4 separate regions of the Homo sapiens genome follow, and regions 1, 3 and 4 are each linked to region 2. The links are contacts of gene promoters, found by promoter capture Hi-C in blood cells and fetal thymus (Javierre and others, 2016). All regions are on one chromosome and are shown on one strand. The core of a region is centred on a gene start or on the middle of the fragment in contact, and the rest is flanking DNA. Distances in the headings are between cores, read along the strand shown.

Region 1 (2,700 bases), core at 29-2,528, 500 kb after region 2:
GATTCTGCTGTCTCAGCCTCCCAAGTAGCTGGGATTATCGGCATGAACCACCATGCCTGGCTAATTTTTTTATTTTTAGTACAGATGGGGTTTCACCACGTTGGCCAGGCTGGTCTTGAACTCCTGACCTCAAGTGATCCACCTGCTTTGGCCCCCCAAAGTACTGGGATTACAGGCATGAGCCACTGCATCCAGCCCAATATAGGGAGGTATTAAGAAAAGAGAAGAACTATCATCCTTAAGTATTAACGGGACTTTAACAAATTAAAAAAGTAGTACTTTGAATAAAAAGCTGTCACATTTTACTGTGAAATCCTTAGACTTTTTTTATACCTCTAGTTCAGGTTTTTTCAGCTTTGGCATGAATGATATTTTGAGCAAGATAAATCTTTGTTGGAGTTGTCCTGTATATTGTAGGATGGTTAACAACATCCCTGGCTTCTACCTGGTAGATGACAGTAGCACTTAATTGTAACAACCAAAAGTGTCTCCAGATGTTGCCAGTTATTCCTTCTGGGGCAAAATTGTTCCCACTTGAGAACCACTGCTCTGGTTAAGTAGTGTAATACTTGGAAATAGAAGGCAGAAAGTTGGTAAGTGCATAAAGAATTCACACAGAAGTTGGATTAGCAAGCTGAGAGACGTTATTTGAACAAGTAGCAATTGGAGGCATTTTGACTGAGAATGGATGTTGTGCCTCTCCCTCACTCTTTCCTCCTCAGCTTGAGAGGTCCATATTCTCTCAAAGTTTGACTCTTTAGTTTTGAGGGTGATGACTGCCAACTGTGGAAGGGATAAACAGATTTCTGTTTGGTATTTTTGTCCAAATATATCAGGACTTTTTCAAGAACAGGCAATGAAATTATTGATCAGAACTACTTGGTGGTTCTGAGAAAATAATATGCTACATGAGGCTACTGAAGTCCTCTTCCTTTTGCCCCATGATGTAACCTTAGGTGACTTTCTTCTGGCTTTCAGTTGAAGATCTTACCCATCATTGAGGTGAGCGAACTGATTTACTGCTTGAGTCTATTTTCTTCCTTAAAGGAGTCTTCATTGAAAACTTTACCCATTTTGGGGTGGCCATAGCTGAGGATGAGTTTTGTCCACAACCTGAGACAACATACTCACTATGTAAAAAACCTGATCTCAGCTTGATATCTGGTTTTAGACTAATTGTTTAATAGAATAATTTATTATTGTAAAATATATATAAAATTTACCATTTTTAAGTGTGTAAGTCAGTGGCATTAAGTACATTTACAAAGTTGTGCAGCCATCACCACTGTCCATTTCTAGAAGTGTTTCATCATTCCAAACAGAAACACTGTACCCATTAAACAATAAATCTCCACATCCCCTTGCCTCCCCAGATCCTGGTAATCTCCATTCTATTTTCTGTATCTATGAATTTGACTATTCTAGGTTTTTCATGTAAGGTGAATCATACAATATTTGCCCTTTTCTGCCTGGCTTATTCCACTCAGCATTTTCAAGATTCATTCATGTTGTAGCATGTGTCAGAATTTCATTCCTTTTTAAGGCTGAATAATATTCTAGTGTATGTATATATCACATTTTGTTTATCTGTCTGTTGATGGGCATTTGGGTTGTTTTCCTTAGAGTCTTTATATGTCAGTAATTCTTAAAGAATTTAAAAGTTGTAGAAACTAGGAATTTTGTAGATATTCTAGAAATATGTCATTTCCTGTACTGTATATAATAATTTATTCTACAGACTAATTACTGTGTATATATTTGGTTCTCAGACGTGATTTTGATTTTGTAGATGCTGTACATGCTCTTCACTTCATTAATCTTTTCCTTTTGCTAATTTTGGTTCTTGTGTATACAGAATTATAGAGTTACAAGGTAATTTAGTTGTTACCTAATTCACCCTAAAGTCTACATGAAACCACTGTCACAGTCTTTGATAAGTAGTTACCAAATCTCACTATTTCTACTGTGATAGTGAATGACTTTCATTGATTAGCTTTCTGAAAGAATAGTTTATCTTACTTGTCTTGGTATCCTCACCTCTGAGTCTATTTGTCTATTGTAATCTGGCTTTTGCTCCACCGCTCCACTGATTAAATGGATGAGCTAAGCATTTTTTTTTTTTTCCACTGCAACCTCTGCCTCCCGGGTTCAAGTGATTCTCTTGCCTCAGCTTCCCGTGTAGCTGGTATTACAGGTGCCCACCACCATGCCTGGCTAATTTTTTGTCTTTTTAGTAGAAACGGGGTTTCACTATGTTGGCCAGACTGGTATCGAGCTCCTGACTTCATGATCCACCCCAAAGCCTCCCAAAGTTCTGGGATTACAGGTGTGAGCCACCGTGCTTGGCCCAATTCTGTTTAATTTTTGAGGAACAATGTTAACTTCTAATTTAAATGGAAGGTAGTATATATCTAATTTTTCCCTATTATTTTTAATTTCAATGCTAGTAAATCTTTAAATCTGAAATACACACTCTTGAATTTTGACAGATATGTATACTCATGTACATATTTATATTCCTGTAATCATCAGATCAAATTAAACATTTTTATCACTTAGAAAGTTTCCTCATGCCTTTTTCCAGTAAGTCTTCTGCTTCACTTCGCCAGATGCAACCACCATTCTGATTTCTGCCTGTATAAATTGATTTTGAACTTTCCTATAATAAGTTGTGCTTGAACTTCACACAAAGGGAGCCAT
Region 2 (2,716 bases), core at 36-2,535:
TGAAACTGTCTCAGAAAAAAAAAAAAGAAAAAAGAAGGAGGGGCATACTGACTCCTCACTGAAGAATGGGATAGACACCCTCTATTCTACCTCTCCCAGCAAGGCCATAAGTCTTTGCTCTGAAAGGAGCCAGACTTTAGAGCCGGCTACAGGTGGACATGGGGTGAAGACATCAGGTTGCGAGGGTACCCTCTCTCGTTCCCTAGGAGCCTGGCCCCTGCAAGGAGGGGCACCTTTAAACAATCAAGCATAGTGAGTGGGGCGGCAAGCAGAGCAGAGACACAGACGACAGCGGGGTGGAGCCCCACCAGTCCCTCTGAGTATAAGGCAGAGGGAGTCCCGCTGGGGTCCACATCCCTGTGTGTCTCGGGCTGATTTGGACACAAGGCTCACACATTCATCCTACCTGCCCCAGTGCTAGCTGGCCGAGGATGCCAGGCTGTACCCGACCTTAGGCTGTGCGGCTTGGAACCTGGACCGGGGCAGGAATTGACAGGTTCCCCCAAACAATGTCACTCCCAGGACCCTAAGACCTCAAGCAGCAGAAACCACAATTCTGGATGTTACGTGCAGCGCCAGCTCCTGTCTGCCCTGCCTCCTTATCCCTTTCTCCCAGGGCGACTTTGGACCAGGTCTCGAGGCCGGGAGACCGGCCCCAGCCCGCCCGACCGGGATGGGCCTGGCGCCCGGGGGAGGCCGCGTCGTGCTGAGACAGCTCCGAGCTGCCTCCCCGCAGCCGCGGGCCGCTACAATACGGATTCGGCGGCGAGAGGAAACAGTCTGGCCCTCCAGGGGACGCAGGGAAATCCAACCTTTGGGTCGGGGGCAATTAGGACTGGGAGTCGATACCGCGGGCAACGAATGATGAATGAATAAATGAAAGGATGAACAGAGTGGCGAGGCGGAGATGGGCCATGCGGGGCGTCCCGAGGAGGGTGCCCTTCCTTGCCCCGATGCTGCCGGGACCGTCCCTCATCCCCCAGGTCGCAGCAGACTCAGCCAAGACACCCGGTCCTAGTGCGAACACCTCGCGGGCCCCGGGAGACGCCTGGGCGCGCGGTGCAGCTCTGGCCCGGAGCCCGCATTCCGGCGGCCGGGAAGTGCCTGCCCCGTGGGCAGAACGCGCCGAGTTGCCGCGGCCCCAGGAGCCGTCCTGCCCCGCGCGGCAGCAGCCCCTCGCGGCGGCCTCCGGAACCCCCGAGACCGGCCCCCGGGCCGCAACCCCTTACCCGCCCTCCTCGGTGGCCTCGCTCCGGCTTAAAGCGGTCATCCCGGCGCCTGCACCCAGCGCCCCGACCGCGCGCCGGGACCCAGCGCCCGCCGGACCCCGCCCGCCCCGTCGAGAGCCCGCCCCGCCCGCCCGCCCATTGGCGGGTCGCGCGGGCCGGGCACAGCCCATTGGCCGTTCCTCCCCCTCATTCCCCAGCTTCCCCAGCTTCTCTCCTTCCCCACCTTCCCCAGGTGGGGCTCCAAGCTCTGAGCAGATCCTAGCGCTCGGTTCCCCGGACTGGGAGGTCCCGGAGGCCAGGGCCTGGCGCGGCACCTCCTGTCCCTCACGTCGAGGGTATTGTGTCCCCTCTGGACGCTTCTGTCGTCCTAGTCTTGCGGCTTGGGTCCCTCTGCAGGAACCAATTCCGGCCCCTCTCCAACCTAACCCTTCCCAACATAGAGCTCCGGATAAGTTTCAATTTTACCGTCAGTGGGGAACACCAAAGGGGATATTGAACACCATGGTCTGACAGCCAAGTCACCACCACGAACCCGGGAGCCAGGATGCTCCCACGCACTTTTGCCGGAGTTAACATTGCAGTTTCTCCAAGGAAATACACTTTTGGAGGAGTCTGCAAAGGGGCTGAAGGTGGACACAAATCAAAGGCAGGGAAGCAGAGGCACGTGCGCTCAGTGTGACAATGAGCTTTTGCCTGGCCTGCAGGCCCTTTCCTCTTCCATCCCCACCAGGACACTTGGTCCTTGGGAGTGTGGTCAGGGGAGAGGAAAAGCGCAGGCCAGATTTGGTCCCATTCCCAACTCTCTCCCCCAGCCCTTTGGCACTACAGCATCATGGTGGGAGGGCACCAGCAAACAGGAGGGGTCCCAAGGGGAGCCTAGGTCCACAACTGAGGACCTGGGAGCCAAACCCAGTCTCAGGCGCCCAGAGCTGACTCCTCCTACAGCCCCCATAAGGGATACGCTAATGCAGGAAGACCAAAGTGGAAGAACCATGGCCAAGGCCACTTTGCAATTTGGGTTTATCTACCAGAGTGGGAGGGAGGCCTTGTCCCTGCTCTTTCCCATCTTCGGTTCACGTAAGCCATTAAAGTCTCCCCGCAGCACTGAAGGGGGCAACCTGTAACCCTAAGATAGTAAGCTACTGCTTTCCCAGCGCCTCTGCACCAGGAGGTGGGCAGGATGGCAGGTGACACCACCATAGCTCCCACTGCGGGGCACGAGGCTGCAGCCATTCCCAGCCTGCTCAGAGGGCAGGGTTCAACCACCTCCCCCTCCCCAGCAGAAAAGAGAGGAAACAGGTGCTTCAGCTGTTGTTTATTGACATACAGGTAGGCTCTATAGCAACAGGCCTGGAGGTGCTGCAGTAGTGGGGGAAAATGGAAGGTGGAGGGTGGAGTGTTTGCTGCAGGACAGCTGAGTGGAGGGTGGGGACAGGTGCAAACTGGAGAGGCCTAGAGAGCTAGAGAAGCAAGTAAGGGCCAGGGCC
Region 3 (2,700 bases), core at 10-2,509, 370 kb after region 2:
ACTTAACAGCTTTAACTGTGGAGAAAATTGGCATGATCCTGTTAAATGTAAGGTGAGTTTGTCTGACATTTCAATTTTTAAATAATGGCACACTTCTAAGACTTAGTGACTAAAAATCATAGCTGATGATTTTGTTATCTATCTATTGATAGATTTTTTTTTATCCTTTTAATTTCAGATGATCATTACATGTATTCAGAGGTAATTCCTTAGGATAAGCCAAGTCAGCTCCTGATTGTTATTAGGATAACCATGGCTAAGGCACCTCTTTGTCAGGCTTTGTAATTAGGGGAATACACACCTTGCAGTTGGGCTTCTCTTCAAGCTCTAGGTTCCCCACTCAGCTTCTGCCAAAGAAAATCCTGCTTTGGTTGATTTTATATATACTGGACATTGTAGCTATGGGATTTCCCTGGCTTAAGAGGATGTGAGCCTAGTGATAATCTTATTCATTGGCTTTTACATTTAAGCTTGACTATAGTTAAGTGCTAAAGTAATTTGCTATTTTTAAAAGTCTTTTGTTGTATCCTAACCGTTGTTATTTTCAAACAGTGGTTAAAGAAATGGATTAAAAAGTGTGATGATGACAGTGAAACCTCCAATTGGATTGCAGCCAACACAAAGGTTGGTGTTTTCCTTCAGTAACTCTTGGTAATAAAAATGATAAGGATTGGTACTTTGGCATTAGCAAAAGCAATGAGGTGACCTACTTACAGGCTTTGTTTCATCTTTTTCTCCATTGAGTCTTTTTTTTTTTTTCCCAGAATGTTTGCCTGTTATTTCCTTTTTCTCTTTGAGTTTATTTTAGAGTATTGAGTACTGTAGTACAGCATCCACAGTTCTCTGCCTTAGGTTTCTTCTACTGGAAAAAAAATTAGTGTTCTGTAGAGGAAAAAGCTGATAATTTTTCAAGTGTGGGATTTGTGCTTGGCTGCCATTTAGTATACAAATGCATTGGAGTTTACTCCGCCTAGCTTGGTTCTGTTAGGCTAATTTACATTTTTGTTTCTAATTTTTTGTTTTGAAGTACATTGCTCTTGATACTAGTTTCAAAATTCAATTTCAAAATTCACTTTCTTAACCCCAGACAAATGTCTTAGAAGTGTTTAAATCTTGAGTACCCTTCTCCTCGATCACTAATCTAATGAGCAAGCATTTGAATGCCAACCGTGTACCCAGCTAGTCTTTTAATACAAAGTCGTATTATCCATCCTTTATGTAATTCAGTCCTATCCTATCCCCATAGTGAGTGACTTGGGTAATGAATGGTAGGTTGGTTCATGGGCTATTCATTTTTAGTATTATTTTGTACATGTAAAGATGATGCTTTAAAGAATGCTGAGTTGTTTGACCCATAGTATATAAAGCTATCTTTGAACTGTTGCCTCAGTCATCACAGGACAATGAGATTAAGAAGTGTGTAAACAATGAAGGCCGACGCAGGTTGTCTGTGTGTGTTTAAATATACATCTTACATACTTATATATAAAACATGAATTTATATTTCTGTCTCCCAGAAAGTAGTGAAACAGTGAATCTTGCCACATAAAACAAATGCCCAAGTCTTTAAGGAATATATGGTAGAAATTAATATTTTTTGTTCCCTCCAAAACCATCACGATAAGCATAACTCACGTCAATCAAAGAAAACCTTACTATAAATATACTGTAATGTCAGAAAGTGGTTACTTGTTTTGTTATTAAAAAAAAATTCTTAGCCAAGCATTCTTTTTTTGAAAATTGAAGATTTTCCCACAAGAAATGTTCCTTAAGTCCCAGAATTCTTTAATATGCTCTGAAAAACTAATATTTAGAATAAGGCAATTATATTTTCACTAAATTGTTTAATTAAATGGTAGCCTTTTTTCTACATCTAGAGAAATTCCTACTTGTAAGCCCCAAAGATGTTTAAAATAGGGAGTACAGGCTTGAATATGTTTGGCTTAGTTTAGATTGTAGATTACCAAGGAAGAATGGCAATTTGTAAAACAAATTTAGCTGCTCAGTATTTTTGAGAGAAAACTGAAGAGTTTTTCTCTTGAGGTTTTAGAAGCTTTTAAGATTATTAGCTCCCTAAACAGATATGCATATTGTCAGTGATATCCTAACATTTTGGAGGTTTAATACTATTAGGTTAATTATAACCAAGAAATGTAGAATGTAGAATGACGCATATTTTATGCCTGAAATTTGCTTGTTTGGAAAAAATGTAAAATTTCTTATGTGGGTGATTTCAAAAATTTGATTTGAAATATATAATTAAAAAGTTGCTATATTGGCCTATTTTAAATTGCTATCATTGATGGGCAGCATAGTCAATTTCACAAAGAAGGCCAAATTGTGCAAATACTAATATAGTGGGTGATCCCTCCTTGGGAGAGTTACAAACCTCAATCACAAATGCAAAAACAAAAAATCCATAGGCCTACAGAGCAGTAATTTTGGCTTACTAGCAACCAAGAATATGATATGAGGCCAGGTGCAGTGGCTCACACCTGTAATCCTAACACTTTGGGAGGCCGAGGTAGGCAGATTGCTTGAGCTTGAGAGATTGAGACCAACCTGGGCAACATGGTGAAACCCCACCTCAACAAAAAATTCAAAAATTAGCCGAGCATGGTGGCATGCACCTGTAGTCCCACTACTTGGGAGACTGAGGCAGGAGGATGACTTGAACCCTTGAGGTCAAAGCTGCAGTGA
Region 4 (2,700 bases), core at 114-2,613, 290 kb after region 2:
CTGAGTAGTGTGATGAAATCTCTCACCATCCCACCCAGGACGTGAATCATCCCTTTATCCAGTATATAGCAGTATATAGACTACCTACCTGCTACTGGCCTCGGCTGGTCACTTCACTGTTACCAGATTGAAAAAACATAGCATGTATAAGTTCGGTATTACCTACACTTTCAAGCTTCCACTGAGGGTCTTGGGACATGTTCCCTGAGGATGAAGGGGACTGCTGTAATGTCTCATTTGATACAGCTTGGGGTATAGTTGATGCCCAGTTAGTGTTTAAGTGATGGATAGTATGCTATCTCAGAAGGTGGCTTAAAAAATTCTTAATGCTCTCTAACATCTGCTCTGGCAAATCAGCTTTCCAGAGCCCTACTTTTTTTTTTTTTCATTTTTAAAAATGACTTTTTTTTTTTTTTTTTTTTTGAGACAGAGTCTCTGTGGCCCAGGCTGGAGTGCAGTGGCATGATCTTGGCTCACTGCAACCTCTACCTCCTGGGTTCAAGTGATTATCGTGCCTCAGCCTCCCAATTAGCTGAGATTACAGGCATGCATCACCACACCTGGCTAATTTTTGTATTTTTTGGTAGAGACAGGGTTTCACCATGTTGGCCAGGCTGGTCTCGAACTCCTGTCTTCAGGTGATCCGCCCTCCTCAGCCTCCCAAAGTGCTGAGATACAGGCATGAACCACTGTGCCCAGCCTGACAATTTTGGTTTTAAGGCCAAAAGTTTGAAGATTTAAATGAAAAATGCCAAATATTCAGGAATTTTCTCCTATTATTATTATTATTTTTTTTTGTATGTAAATATTGTTGTGTAGTATTGTTCTTTCCTTTTTTGCTCTGTTCCATTTAAAAGTGTCAGAAGTGCCCTGACAATACATTTTGGCAAAAAACAGAGCAGGTAATGAAGTATTAGGTAACATTTTCTTGTTACTGAGACATTTGCTTAGACAATGCTAAGAATAGCTATCATCCTAGACACTTCTCCCCAGGCTTGCTTTGCCATTGCCTTTGAAACTGTCATACTTATAACTCAGATATTAACTGGCTCTAATTACCTGGTAATATGTCCTCTCTCCTAATCACAATTGTACAGTGTTTTTAGGGATAAAGTGTAAACTAGAAACCGAGAAGTATTACCTGATTCTTAGCAAGTATTTATAAGTGAAAGCCTCTAATGTGGACATTTATCTTGGAATTTGTGACATTTGGACAGATATTTATCTGAAACTTACTTGAAACTCAAATTTAATACCTTCTCTCTTTGAGGCTTTTCCCCCTTTTATTGGCTTATCTGAGAACCATTCTTGGGATTTGAGTCATCCTTTTTTTTTTCCTTCATTTTCCACATCCAGTTATCCCTGATCAAGTTACCTCTGAAATTTGTTTCATGTTGTTGCTATCCTTTTTACTAACTAATCCTAGTTTAGGACCTTTTTATTTTGCCTCCTTGTCTCTGGGCTTCCAGTGTATCATTCTGTTACCAAACACAAATTTAATAGTCATCCTCCTGCTAAAAAGAGACTTTCTGTCAAAAGTCTATCCCAGACTCCTTACTATGGCATTCATGGCTTCCCCATCTTAACATAGCTAATTTTTTTCAATCTCATCTGCAGTTGTTCCTCATCCCTTATCACCCCCAGTTGCACTGTTTGTAATTCTTTACTGTGTAACACATATTTGTGTTTTCATGCTTTTGTTCATACTTGTCCCTCTTCTTTTGATACCTTTTCTTTTCTTTCTGTCTCTCTTTTTTCTTGAGACAGGGTTTTTGCTCTGTTGCTCAGGCTGGAGTGCAGTGGCACGATCACGGCTCACTACAGCCTTGAACTCCTGGGCTCAAGCGATCCTCCCACCTCAGCCTCCTGAGTAGCTGGGACTACAGTTGCATGCCACTACACCTGGCTAATTTTTTGTATTATTATTTTTATTTATTTATTTTTTGTTTGTTTGTTTTGTTTTTGGTAGAGACAATTTTTTGCCATGTTGCCTAGACTGGTCTCGACCTCCTGGACTCAAACGATCTTCCCACCTCAGCCTCCCAAAGTGTTGGGATTACAGGCATGAGCCACCGTGCCCAGCTCTCTTTCTCTTCTTAACTGCCTGATATATTCCTATTGAGAATCTGCCAGGCTGGCTGCGGTGGCTCATCTCCTTTCAGGTTCTTCTCTACCTTTCCTGTGCTTCCTTATCTATGTTTGAATAGTGCTTCATATGGATATTTGGTATAGCCTATAAGAGGTTATGATATAGCTATCCCTATATCCAAGCCTCTAGCTATATATGAGGGTTTTGAAGGTGAGAACTAAAACTCCTTCATCTTTGTGTTCATAGCAGAGTTTCTTCTCTGACAGAAGAAACTCAGTAAATATTTGTTGAAGTTTGTCCTTGCCTAGTAAATGCTTGCTTTCTCAGTTTCCTTGTGGTAAACCAAAGGGATCCAGACAAGATTTTCTTCTGGCACTAACAAATTATTTTATGATTTCTAGATAATGCCAAAGTGGTAGTGTAAGAAGATGGCAAGGAAGAAATGTTTGAATTCCAAGAGGACAAGCTTCTTAAGGTCCCTGAATATTCAACCTTTTAGGTGAAGCTTTATTATTTGCGTATAGTTCCCTGGCGCTGGGTGTGAACTGACACAGTGATGATGTTAAAGACAGTGGAATCACCCAGGTGCAGTGGCTCACGCCTGCAATCCC

Evidence for each region. The method cuts DNA at HindIII sites, captures the fragments that hold promoters and counts their contacts. A CHiCAGO score of 5 or more calls a contact.
Region 1: a contact is called between a fragment that was not itself captured here and the fragment with the promoter of GRAMD2A in region 2, in 1 of 17 cell types (total B cells). The highest score is 5.9, in total B cells.
Region 3: a contact is called between a fragment that was not itself captured here and the fragment with the promoter of GRAMD2A in region 2, in 7 of 17 cell types (naive B cells, total B cells, total CD8 T cells and 4 more). The highest score is 7.6, in naive B cells.
Region 4: a fragment that was not itself captured here is called in contact with the fragment with the promoter of GRAMD2A in region 2 in 1 of 17 cell types (neutrophils); the score reaches 6.2 in neutrophils.

Annotation. Positions count from the first base shown.
Region 1 is chr15:72,697,036-72,699,735 of GRCh38, forward strand. The region is part of intron 2 of BBS4 (Bardet-Biedl syndrome 4); the gene reads left to right. Among named protein-coding and RNA genes, the nearest start is that of BBS4, 12 kb to the left of the region's middle. The HindIII fragment of the contact is 7,034 bases long and covers 1-2,700 here.
Region 2 is chr15:72,196,502-72,199,217 of GRCh38, forward strand. GRAMD2A (GRAM domain containing 2A) reads right to left here and starts at 1,286. Exons shown (of 12, transcript NM_001012642.3): 1 at 1,230-1,286. The coding sequence starts at 1,270. It overlaps PKM (pyruvate kinase M1/2), which reads right to left. Exons shown (of 11, transcript NM_002654.6): 11 at 2,528-2,716. RefSeq lists an enhancer at 724-903 and a silencer at 1,014-1,433. The HindIII fragment of the contact is 8,362 bases long and covers 1-2,716 here.
Region 3 is chr15:72,566,554-72,569,253 of GRCh38, forward strand. It overlaps ARIH1 (ariadne RBR E3 ubiquitin protein ligase 1), which reads left to right. Exons shown (of 14, transcript NM_005744.5): 8 at 10-52; 9 at 553-624. Among named protein-coding and RNA genes, the nearest start is that of MIR630, 19 kb to the right of the region's middle. The HindIII fragment of the contact is 1,583 bases long and covers 469-2,051 here.
Region 4 is chr15:72,486,293-72,488,992 of GRCh38, forward strand. All of the region lies in intron 1 of ARIH1 (ariadne RBR E3 ubiquitin protein ligase 1), which reads left to right. Among named protein-coding and RNA genes, the nearest start is that of ARIH1, 13 kb to the left of the region's middle. The HindIII fragment of the contact is 2,380 bases long and covers 174-2,553 here.